Regions from separate parts of the Homo sapiens genome. Here region 1 is linked to region 2. Evidence: promoter capture Hi-C in human tissues and cell types (Jung and others, 2019). All regions are on one chromosome and are shown on one strand. The core of a region is centred on a gene start or on the middle of the fragment in contact, and the rest is flanking DNA. Distances in the headings are between cores, read along the strand shown.

Evidence for each region. The method cuts DNA at HindIII sites, captures the fragments that hold promoters and counts their contacts. A contact is called where the count stands out against the background at its distance.
Region 1: a fragment that was not itself captured here is called in contact with the fragment with the promoter of HECW1 in region 2 in 2 of the 25 tissues and cell types used here (adrenal gland and dorsolateral prefrontal cortex).

The regions. Positions count from the first base shown.
Region 1 is chr7:43,162,738-43,169,456 of GRCh38, forward strand. The region is part of intron 2 of HECW1 (HECT, C2 and WW domain containing E3 ubiquitin protein ligase 1); the gene reads left to right. HECW1-IT1 (HECW1 intronic transcript 1) reads left to right here. Exons shown (of 7, transcript NR_135295.1): 7 at 189-450. Among named protein-coding and RNA genes, the nearest start is that of MIR3943, 15 kb to the left of the region's middle. RefSeq lists an enhancer at 1,832-1,891. The HindIII fragment of the contact is 4,422 bases long and covers 1,018-5,439 here.
Region 2 is chr7:43,108,218-43,114,118 of GRCh38, forward strand. It overlaps HECW1 (HECT, C2 and WW domain containing E3 ubiquitin protein ligase 1), which reads left to right and starts at 4,430. Exons shown (of 30, transcript NM_015052.5): 1 at 4,430-4,720. RefSeq lists an enhancer at 1-184. The HindIII fragment of the contact is 15,211 bases long and covers 1-5,901 here.

The sequences.
Region 1 (6,719 bases), core at 1,979-4,478, 53 kb after region 2:
AGAGGTAGTGGTCCCTATAAACAAAGCTCCCATACTACTGTAATAATAACATTGTAATAATAGCAGCAGTAATTTATGGAGCACTTGTTCTGTGGGAGGCATTGTTCTAACTACCTTTACAAGCATCATCTGAGCTAATCTCTCAACAACTCTATAAAGAGGCAACTATTGTTACTGTTGTTTTACAGATGAAGAACATGAGTCTTAGAGAAGTCAAAGAAGTTGCCTAAGGTCACATGAGCAGTGAGCAGAGGAGTTGCTTACCTTTGTTAGACTCCAAATCCTGTGTGACTATGAAACTCATTAACTGAAACAACCCGGCACCTTTGGACCTGTGCAGGCAAAGGCAAGGGAGTTGACCAGGAGCACACAGCACAGACGAGAACAGTCCCAAAGCCTTTTGCTGTATCCCATCTGTGCAAACCACTCCCAATAAACAAACAAACACACACCAGGCTTCTTGAACAATTTCTCCCCGTTGCCAAGCTATTGGAAGAAAAGAACGCAAATCCGATCAGATTCATTACTAGTTTGAGGATTGCAAATACATTTCACCTTGGGTTGGATTGCGAACCATATATGGAAAGGACACCATGTTGATCAGTGTGCATGCACACACACATACACACCCCCACTGTGTGCAGTGACAGAAGTGCTCATTGTGTGCCAAACACCACCCTTGTTCTGTCCGGGGGGAGGTGCTGCGAAGACTGGGGAGATGGAGGCAGGCTCTGCTTCTGGCTGGATTCCTCAACCCACCTCCCTAGGCTCCCTGACCTTCCATTTGAAGGTCCAGGCCAAGTCGCAGACCATATGCCAGTTATCCAGGGAGCTTGCTACAAGTCACCCTCATGCTCCTGGTCTTCCATTCCCAGCCGTCAGCCAGAACCCAGATTCAGTGACCAGTTATGACCCCTGGGAAAGAGTTGCCCCAGGTTCGATCAACTAAGCTCCCCCAAATGGCTCTGCTTTAATTCTTCCTAATCTTGTTCATTCCCTCCTTGCCTGCTACATGTGGCTGCCAGGAACCCTCACATCTTGGGTCTAACCACTGAGAAATGGTGGAGATGTTTGGATTTGATGGAAGGATTTGGACAAGCAAAGATGAGGGTATTGCAGGTGACTCGAACAGTTGAGTACAACTGTAAAGAAGGAAGTCATTGTCCTGTTCTGGCAAGAGCAAGTAATTTATTTAGTATTTCTAGAATCTCAGTCTAAGAGAAAAAACTGGGCCTTGGGTGACAGGAGGTGGGCAGGAGTTCATCCTGCCCTGGCTGGCAGATTTCACACAGGGAGAAGAGCCAGGGCAGGCAGCGAAGAGAGCGGTTGGAGGCCCAGGCTTGGGTGGAGGTAGTGGGAATGAAAGGGAGCCAATACATGGGGGAAGTCAAAGAGCAGCTAAGGACCAGGCTGGGGAGAGGAATGGCCAAAGAGAAGTCAGAGTTGGCCCGAGTCATCTGGTCTGCATGGGCTGGAGACAGGGAGGCAGCAGAGAAGGCAGGAGGAGGAAGGGCTCAGCCATTGGCACTTAATAGTTATTATTTTTATGATTTATTTATGCCTCAATTACTTTCAAAAAATTAAAGCAGCTAATAAAAAGTGCATGACCAATAAAATGTTAGCACATATTGAAACAGTGTTTTGCATAAGTTGAGTTGAAGGTGCCAGTGGGGCCTCCTGGGGGAAGATTCAGCAACATTGGGAAATCAAGAAGGCACCAGGGTGTCCTCTGGATCGAGCCTTGAGTGGAGGGGGCTGCTCGGCATCTGTGCTGTGTGCCCAGACTCCCCTCAGTGCACCCCTCCTGTGCTCCCCATGGGAAGACACACCCCTCCCTCCTTCCTTTATCAGGCCTCCTGAGGGTCAGGCCCCTGCAGGGCCAGCAGCCATGGCACAGTCCTTGGTGCATAGTGGGTGTGTTTCAGGGCCACTGGACTGGACTTTCCTTTTGGTGTGGAGGGAGGGAGAAGCAATGGAGAAAGAGGCGAGGACAGAGAGCGCCACATCCTGGGGTCAGATCTCCAGGACTGATGGTGCATGTGAGGCAAGTGCAGACTCTTCCAGAATTAGAAAGGAGATGCCGAGCATGCAGCCGCGCTTCCATGGTGTATGATTCAGAATATTTGTCCTGCACTCTGCAGGTCATCATAACACAAGCTCATTCATCAGCGAGTGTCTTAAGAGTGAAGAGTCATGGCTGAAAGCAGAAGGATGAATCAGTGGTTTCTAAAGGTTCCTCTCTCTCTGAGTCAGGGAATGCCCCTTTGTCTATATTTGTAACTGCTCCCTTGTTTCAGAACATTTCCACTTTTGGAGAAATGCCATAAGTTAGTCTGGCTTGAAATTTGGTTTCAATAGTAAGGCCTTCTCAATCCCTAAATGATGAAAATAATAAAATAATGGAAATAAAAGGGATTTTAATTTTCCCTGGCATCTATTTCAAGTATTATTACAGTGCACTGATTGTTTGTAATGTTTATTGAAATGTGTCAATTTCCCTTTTTCTTTTCCTCTGTTTTCACTTTTGTGTCCAGAGTTGGAGATTTCCAGAACACATTGGCAGCCATGTGCATACAATTTCCAACTTTAGAACACTGTGTATGAATTATGTTACATATCATGAGGTTAGAAAATAATGCAAAGGACACTGGGCTTTTGGCGGGGGGGGGTGTTTGTGTGTGTGCACACAGGTATGTGTGTGTGTTTGAATACAACAGCCTCTAATGACATCAAAGGTCATTAATAACAATTCAATCAATTATCCGTGAAGGTGTAAGATGCTTACTCTGTGGAGTTTAGATAGATTTGAGAACATAAGAGTGATTTTATTTTTGCTTTTTGTGCATTTGAAAAGGACACAACTCTCCTATGCAGAGTTTTTGGTTTCTGGTTGTATGATGCTTTTTATCCATACATAGGCGTTGTGAGCCCACTCTAATCACTTAGATTTTTTTTTAGTAATAGTTTCCTTACAATCAATCATGCCAGCAGTTGTGAAAATATGCTATAAGCTTTATATTAAGACAAATAAAGTTGAGATGCTGTGTCTCCAGCAGAAATAACTTCCTTTCTATTTCTTATTTCAATCAGTCATGCCAGAGATATAAAACCATGCCATCAGCCATTTGCATGTGTTGAGATTCTGAGTCCCAATGCAGATTTAAAAGAGGACTTTCCCTCTAACTCCTTGCCTATTAATATACTCATTCACTCATTCAATTATTCAACCAGTGTCTATGAGCTCCTGCCGTGGTTCAAGCACAGCTGGAGTGGCTAGGTCACAAAGATGAATTGGACATGGTTAAAAGTCTTCCTTCCTCTCTGGTGAAGGGATTTTTGTTTGTTTGTGTTTTTGGTTTTTTTTGAGACAGAGTTTCACTCTTTCGCCCAGGCTGGAGTGAAGTGGTGCTATCTCAGCTCACTGCAACCTCTGCCTCCTGGGTTCAAGCAATTCTCTTGCCTCAGCCTCCCAAGTAGCTGGGATTACAGGCACCCACCACCACAGCCAGCTACTTTTGTATTTTTAGTAGAGATGGGGTTTTGCTATGTTGGCCAGGTTGGTCACGAACTCCTGACCTCAGGTGTGTTCCACCTGCCTTGGCCTCCCAAAGTGCTAAGATTATAGGCATGAGCCACTGTGCCTGGCCTGGTGAAGGAGATTGACTTTGAAATGGTGAGTGATAAGCTAGATGCCTACCCAAGCTATAATAGTATTAGGATCTAGAAGCAGCACCCAGGCCAGCTGCAGGGTGGAGATGGATGAGGGAAGGCTGACCCCTGAGCCAACTCTTATTATTACTGATATTTTAAGAAAAGATAGGGGTTAGTCACATTACAAGTAAAAGCTTTTCTTTACTAAAAAGATGTTTTGTTTATTTCACATTGTACAGTATACATTATCCTTCAGATTACATTTTATTGATGATTATAGATGATTCATAACTTGAGAGGAAGTATAATAGGAACCTTTGTCCACTAAAGAGTACTAAGACACTGAGGTGAATGCTGCAAACCATTCTGTTGGTCAGGTGGAAAGGGCCCATTTGAATTATTGATCTTAATTAATTACCAGCACAGGACTGAGGGTGGGGCCAGGGAGGGCAGCACAGGCCCAGGCCATGGCTGGTCATGGGTGATGACAGGTGCTCCTGGAGAGCTCAGCAACTGTGGCCGCATGTGGATGACCCCGTGTGCCAGGCCCCAGGGGACTTCACCTCTCAGGCTGTAGGCAGCCACTGAATGACGCAAGGCAGGCAAGAGGCATGACCAGAGTGGGATGTTTCCAAAAGACCCCTTTCTGATGAGATAGTGGATTCACTTCCCATTGCTATAACAACTTATCACAAACTTTATGGCCTAAAGCAACAGGAATTTATTCTCTCAGTTCTGGAAGCCAGAAGTCTCATATTAGGTATGAGAAGGGCCATGCTCCCTTCAAAGGCCCTAGAGGAGGATCCTCCCCTATCCTCTTCCAGCTCCTGGTGGTGCTTGACCTTTCTCGGTTTGTGGCCACATAACTCCAGCCCTTGCCTTCATCTCCACATGGCCTCCTTCCCCTATGTCTCTGTGTCTTCTCTTCTATTCGAGGAATACTAGTCATTGCACTTAGAGTCCACCCTAAATCTAGGGTGATTTTATCTCAAGATCCTTGCTTAATCACCTCTGCAAAGAGCCTCTTTCCAAATAAAGTCATATTCTGAAGTTCTAGAAGGGTGGATATGAATTTAAGGGATCCACTATTCAACAACTCCAGATGGAGGGAGGTTGGAAGAGGTTCGGAGGATGAGGTCTAGCAGGACATGGGAGGACATTACAGAGGAACCTACAAGAAGTGAAAGAGAATGCATAGGTGGCATGCTGGGGCAGGTTTCAAGAAATGTGTGTTCAGGAGGAATAAGGGAGGAAAGGGTAAAAAAGAAGGATGAGGGATTGTGGCGTAAAAGCCAAACCTTCACAAATTTGCTTTCCACCCATGTAGGTATCTTCTAGCATTAAGTTCTAGTTCAAGTACCACCCTCTCTCCTGTAATGGCTGACAAAAGTGTTACTAGGATCACCTCATTTAATTCTTAAACAGTACTATTATGATCACTCACACTCTAACACACACCCTGTTTTAAAGAGGAAACAAATTGAGGCTTGGAGAGGTTAGGTGGCTTGCTAGTAAATAAATGCTGGAGCTAGAATTTGAACCAGACAACCATACTGTAAGCCCAGCACTCCTGAATACTCACACATCACACATACCCCTCACCAACACCACACCACCAAGTAAAATTATTCCTCCCATCTCTAAATCCCCATAGCCCGTGGTGTACGCTTCCTTTCGGCATTTGTTCAATTACCAACTAGTTTATTTTTACAAGTAGATTTGTGTACGTGTCGTGAGGAGAGGGACTGGACATGTTTCACTTTTGCATGATGTCCCCAATATCTTGCACCTGCATTGCACAAAGATCATGTTTATGAGTGTTGAATCATGGGATGCTATCTTAATTCAGACCACAATTATATGTTCAGCCTGTGTGAGAGACAGAGAGAGAGAGACAAGGAAACATACAGCTATTATACAGTATGTGGTGTGCAGGGATACAGGTGAACACACAGAGACCTTGGGATGCATCTCATATGTATGTGCCAGCTGGGCATGGTGGCTCACGCTTGTAATCTCAACAATTTGGGAAGCTGAAGTGGGAGGACCCCTTGAGGCCAGGAGTTTGAGACCAACCTGGGCAACATACTGAGACCCTATCTTCTCAAAATTTTTTTTTAAATTAGCCAGGCATGATGGTGTGTGCCTGAGGTCCCAGCTACTCAGGAGACTGAGGTGGAGGGATCACTTGAGCCTAGGATTCTGAGGCTGCAGTAAGCTGTGATTGTACCACTACACTTCAGCCTGGGTGACACAGCAAAACCCTGTCTCCAAAATAATAATAAGAATAATAATAATAGTATGTATTAATCAATAGGGATAAGAGACACATACATAGACAGACACAAATCAGTGAAGGAGGTGAACAGGCAATTCACAGAGGAAGTAAAAGTCAATAAGTATACGCAAGGATACTCAGTTTCACCTGCAATTAGCACTATGCATGTTAAAACACTGACAAGATATGATTCTACTCCAACCAGATTGGTGAAATAAAACATTTAAGGGGGGCAGGAAATTTCTCATTGTTCACTATAGAAAGATATGCACCAAACTGATAATAAACTGAAATGGTGGCTTCTGAGAGCTTGGGTGAGGGGTGATTTCTTGGAGGACTTTACTTTTACCTGTAGTATTTAAATTGTTTTACCAGGAGAATATGTTCATGCATTACTTGTATATTTGAAATTAGTAGGGAAAGAAATCAAATGCTCTCCCTCAATTTACATTACTGGGTAATTACAAGGGATCATATGCTATTCATTGCTACTCCCATAGCTGAAAGAGGACCCTGCATTCCCAATTCTGTCATCTTTCCACTACATTTTGATGATAAGTTAGATGAGATCCGGAAGTTCAGGAAATACCTGTATGGAGGTGAAATGTAAAGCCTAGAGCTGTGTTTCCCAGGGGCTGGACACTTTATTGTCATGGGGGCTGACCTGCGCATGGCAGGGTGTGACACAGCATCCTGGCCTCTGCCCACCAGATGCCAGTAGCAACCCACCCCTCACCCTTTCTACTGTAAGGTGTAACAACCAAAAATGTCTCCAGACATTGACGGATAC
Region 2 (5,901 bases), core at 3,180-5,679:
GGGACTTTGCAGGCTTGGAAGAAACTGCCCCTCCCAGGGCTAGCTAATTCCTAGAGATGGCAAACAACTTGTCTGAGAGCCCACCATTCATATGTAAACCAACCAATCCAGAGTCCATGCCCACAACCACCTCCTTTGTCCAACTCACATAGCAAACCAATTTCCCTTGCCCTAAGTCTCCCCAGGGACAAGTACAGGACAACTAGAGACTACCTCTGTAGCCCACAGCCACTGAAATTATTGGAACTATCAAATCCTAGACTTGCTCAAACTGGCCTGCCCTGCCTGGCCATTCCGTACCACAGCATACAAAATAGAGGCTCTGAGCCATGCTCTCCCAGGCTTCTGCCTCCTGATTGACCCAGGAGCTCCCCCTGTGGCCCTGCGCGGTATGCCATGCCTCCTGTTTCTAGGGTTCTGTGAGTATAAACTTCTCCCTTCATGAGAAGCATTTCCATGTCTGTATGTCTGCATGTGCATACTTAATTAAAACAAATCCCAGGTACACTTTAATACAAAGTGAAATTCAAAATTAAAATCAATACCTTTTACAATAGTACCAAAAAAATGAAACTCTTAGAATCTACATGGAAACTCTTAGAATCTGTGTAGAATTTGCATACTGAAAACTTCAACTACTGATGAAATAAATCAAAGGAAACCTAAACAAATGCAGAGAAATGCTAAGTTTGTGGGTTGAAAGGTATTCAGAAATTGGAAGATTGTTAAAATGTCAGTTCTTCTGATATTCATCTATAAATTTAACACAACTGCAATCAAAATCCCAGTGGGAATTTTTTTGTAGATATTGACAACCATTTCTAAATTCATATAAAAAGGCAAAGAAATGAAAATAGCCAAAATAATGTTTAAAAAGGACAGAATTGGAGGGTTCACACTACCTGATTTTAAGGCAGTATACATCTACAAAATAGTGTACTATTTGTAAAACAATAGAAAGACAGATCAGAGGCACAAAACAGAGAATATAGAAAGAGACCCCTACAAATCTAACCAAGCGATTATTGAAAAGTTGCGAAAGCGATTCAATCAAGAAAGGATCTTTTCAATAAGTGGTGCTAGAAGAATTGGACATCCCATGTGCAAAAACAAGCCAACAAATAAAAAAGTCACCATCCATAGCTCACACCTAAAAAATAATAAGAATTCAAAATGAACCAAATACTTAAGTGTAAAATGTAAAATCTTGAAACTTATCAGCAAAACACAACTCTTTGTAACCTTGGTTAGTCAAAAGAGTTCTTAGATATACCAAAAGCATGATCTCTGAAAGAAAAAGTTGATACATTGAACTCCATCAACTTTAAAGACATTTACTCTGTGACAGAAACTACTAAGAGAATGAAAAGACAAGCCACACATGGGGAGGAAATATTCAGAAAACTTATCTGACAAAGACATTGTATCTAGAATACAGAAAGAACTCTCAAAAATGAACAATATAAAAGCAAACAACCCACTTAAAAATGAGCAAAAATTTTGAGCACTTTACTACAAATGATAGACGGATGGAAGAGAAGCACAAAAGTAGATGCTCACCATCATTAGTCATTAGGAAAGTCCAAATGACAATCTTGTATTATTGGCTACAATTTGCTCCTGTGCAGAGACTATGTGAGATAGCTTCAACAGCTCGGTCTTTTTCCTCCCCTAGTTATAGTGCGTTCACTTCCGACATTATGTTGAAGGCCTATCCCCAAAGATAAAGCCCCGGATTGGTTCAAGTTATCGTTTTCTCAGCATTGTAGGGACCATTTGTGAATGGTGCTCTGTTTGCTAATCTTTATCTGCATGTGGCCTGAGATGAGCAGGTGAGCAGGCATGTCACCCCCTCCCTGGGTCCTCCTGGGCCTCGAGTTACAAAAGGTGGAAGATTCGGTTGCATGGGCATTATGATAATACAGGTGTTTGTATATGCATCTCAAAACCTTCAACATTCACTTTACGCCATTATATAAGGTTAGTATTAGGAGGGACGCACTGGGACTGTGACTTATTATTTATAACAGTATTTTGAGTACATTAGAAACTTAATAAATATGACTACTAGGATGGCTTTAAGATTCATGCCATGTCTTTTCCTTTCTCCACCAAATACTCTTCTCTTTAAGGTTAGGGCAGCTGACATCTGTAAACTCCAGATTCAAGGTCTTCTGCTTGAAACAAGACTTAAGGAAATTACAGAACTAACATAGCCTTTTTGCTTTCTTCTGTAAAATAGGATCATGCTACCCAGACTACAGGGGGACTGTTAGGAATAACAAACAAAACAGGCCAGGCATGGTGGTTCACGTCTGTAATCCTAGCACTTTGGGGGGCTGAGGCAGGAGGATTGCTTGAGCTCAGGAGTTCAAGACCAGCCTGGGCAACTTGGCAAAACCCCATCTCCACTAAAAATACAAAAAACAAATTAGCCAGGCATGGTGGCACACACCTGTACTCCCAGGTACTCGGGAGGCTGAGGGGGGAGAGTTGCTTGAGCCTGGGAGGCGGAGGTTGCAGTGAATGGAGATTGCACCACTATACTCCACCCTGGGCATTGGAGTGAGACCCCTCACAAAAAATAAAAATAATAAAAATAAAAGGGGACAATACACAGGAGTCTGTATATGCTGCCATTGCACCTGACATGTAGAAGCTGCTCTACAAGGCTTCTTTATCTACTCAGGATGTGAAACTTTGTGTACTGCTATTTTAATATCTTTTGTCTTCAGTATAAAAAAAGCAACTCCTCAGGGGAGGATAAAGCACACCACAAGGATTGCTACATCAATAACCTCTATGAGAGATGTGGACTTGTCAAGTCATCTCCATGATGGATAGAACAGAGAGCAAACATCTCTGAGCCAAGTTGATGCTGATTCACTGAAAATAATGAGGTGAACATCCTGGCAATTAGTTGAGGTAAAAAAATTATCCTTTATTGTGGTTTGGTGACATTGTGCTAATTTAGAAACCATGGATGCTGGTTTATGTGAAAGTTTTTGTTTTCTTTCAAGTCTCTGGTTGGAAACATCACATGGTTGGTTGCTGTTGCTGTTTACTGCCACAGCCTGTTCAAGTCTATTCTCGGAGAGTTTTCTTCATATAGGAGTTGGTACTAATCCAAGTGTAAAATCCGGAGAAATGTGTGCACAGCTTTCTGTGTGGATTCTTAGCTAAGGTTTGAAAATGGTCTGCTTTGAGCTCATCTGACCAGAAGATCTGACTGCTGTCAGGCAAAGAAAAGGGTCTGTCAGGAAAGGACTGGGCACCCCAAGTGGAATACGGAAAGAGAAGGGCTGTGCCTCCTTGCAGAAAAGAGCACAGCTGGTGAAGCTGCCTTCACATCGTCCAAAGTTTCCAGTTCTGGAAAGTTCCAGTTGTAAGAGTGAAATCAATGCCAAGAGGCAGGTCAGTGGAATGAGAGGCACTGAGAAACTAGCCACTGTGGGTGGAAGGGGAAGGAGATTTGGTTTTGACAAGTCCGTACTCAGGTCTTCAGTAAGGAGTTCTGAAGTCAGGGTGAAGCCTTTGTTTATTCTAGAGGAGGCGGAGTTTGGGGTCTGGGAAAGAAGATAACTTCTCAGAAAGTGAAAAAAAGCTCATGTAGAGGATGCTGGGCAAAATAATGGGAAGGAATAAATCAGCATTGTAGAGAATGTGGTTGGATCATAAAATCCCAGGCTATAGAGATTATGTGCTCAAAGCCTCTGCATTTTATGTGAACACACACAAACCAAATGTCGACCAGATGCACAAAAATGTGCATACATGGAGCAGCCAACCACCAATAGTAACCAGCATTTCACTTCTCTTTGCATCTCAGTTGGCTGTACCTGGAAGGGTCTAGACTTTGCCTCCTTCTCGTTCTAGCATTCTGACACTGTGTGCAGTGTAATAGAAAACGCGGTTTGGGAGCTAGGTTTGCCCAACAATAGATATTCTGGGGTGATTTTCATCCTTTGCATTTGTCATTACGATGTTTTGTGTGCTTGTGCAAATACAGGACGGTTCCTGAAATGTGTCTCTGAGCGTTCTTAACTGTGTGTAAGGTAAGCGAGGAAAGTGTCTAAGACAGAGGCCAAGAACACCTGTCACAGGGTACCCGCCTAGAGTGTCTGTACCGCATCCTTTCTGCTACACTGTTTGCACACACACAAAAGGGCCGAGGAGCCAGGGTTGGTGTTGGATATGCCCAGTACGCGTGCTGGGTGTTGGAAGGATGGGGCCGGCGGTAACAAGAATCGATATATATTTACCGCGGGGGCGGGGGTGGGGGTGCGCGGAGGCTGCAGGGCGGGGCAGCGCTAATGAGAGCAAGCCCGGCTTGTGGTTGGTTCTGGAGTCTGGTACCCACAGAGGAGCAGGCAGGGAGGGAGGGGATGCAAGCGGGAGGATAAAGCGATGAAGTGTGCTGCGTTACCGCGCATCAGGCGCTGTTGTTGGAGCCGGAACACCGTGCGACTCTGACCGAACCGGCCCCCTCCTCGCGCACACACTCGCCGAGCCGCGCGCGCCCCTCCGCCGTGACAGTGGCCGTGGCCTCCGCTCTCTCGGGGCACCCGGCAGCCAGAGCGCAGCGAGAGCGGGCGGTCGCCAGGGTCCCCTCCCCAGCCAGTCCCAGGCGCCCGGTGCACTATGCGGGGCACGTGCGCCCCCCAGCTCTAATCTGCGCGCTGACAGGAGCATGATCTGTGCCCAGGCCAGGGCTGCCAAGGTAAGCGGGCGTAGCGCGGGGACACTGTCTGCCGCCCCTTCCCCCCCGCCCTTCTCTGGGCGGCTTCCCCGCCGCACGCGAGGCCCCGGCAGCGCCCTCCCTTCTCGGGGCCGAGATCCACCCTCCTCCCCACCCTCTCGCTTCTCCCGCGAGGTTCAATTGTCAGCCTGGGTCGCGCCGCCGCCCGGTCCGGGCCGGCATCCCCGGGTGGCGACCCCGGCTTGGGTACTGCAGGCGCACCCGGCCCTCCTGCGGGGTACGGAGAGAAACAAAGAAGCCCCCAAGCGGGTTCGCAGCGCCTCCCCCGCCCCTCAGCGCCCTCCCAGTGGCGAGGAGGTGTCAGGGGAGGGGGCGGAGAGACCTACGTAATCCCCCTTCCCAGCCCACACCCACCCCTTGTGAACCAAAGCTCTGGATTTGCGCTTCGCCTTGGGCTCGCTTTTGAACAATTGTGTCCCATGCAATGCCCGTGGTTAGCCCAGAGAGCGCCCAGAGCCTCCGCACGGGCTCGCCGGTGCTCGCTCGAGGGGCGCGTGGCCAGGTCCGGCCCTTGCTCCCATGGACGGGTGCAGGAGGGGAGGAGGCGCTGTGTGGGTGCTCCCCCAGCGCCTCCCTGTTACCGGCCGGCTGCGCCGCTCAGCCGGGCCTGCCACCTGAGTTTTAGCGGGAGCAGTCATGTCGCCTACCGTATTGCGACTTGCAGACAGGCAGGGAGGGAGCTGCCGGGGCGGGGAGGGGGGGGGAATGCGTCCGGTCCATTTTTGGCTGGAGGTGCGCTTCCTGCTACCCCCACGTTCCCGGGCGGTGACAATGCAGCAAAATCCGAGGGCTCAAACAATGTGGCCCCTCCATCCCCGGCTCCAGGGCATTCTGATTGCTCTGCCGCTTTGACGTCCCGGCCACTTGGCTGATTTTCAGAGCCATGATGCGCGGTGTCTCTGTCTTGCACACAGAGGCTGGGCACCATAACTTCTTCCCTGCCGAATTTCAGCGCGTAGGGGGAGCTGGCAGGGACACAGGCTGCAGAGATGCCCGGCTTCCTGTGGTTCCGGGCACAGCGCGCCTCAGTCTGCATTGGGCTGACACCAGAGAGCATGTGGGGATTTTCCTAGTTGCCGAAGAAGATATTATTTGACGTTGCTGTAGTTTTGTGCTTACTTCTCTTGGAATCTGCAGTGGTG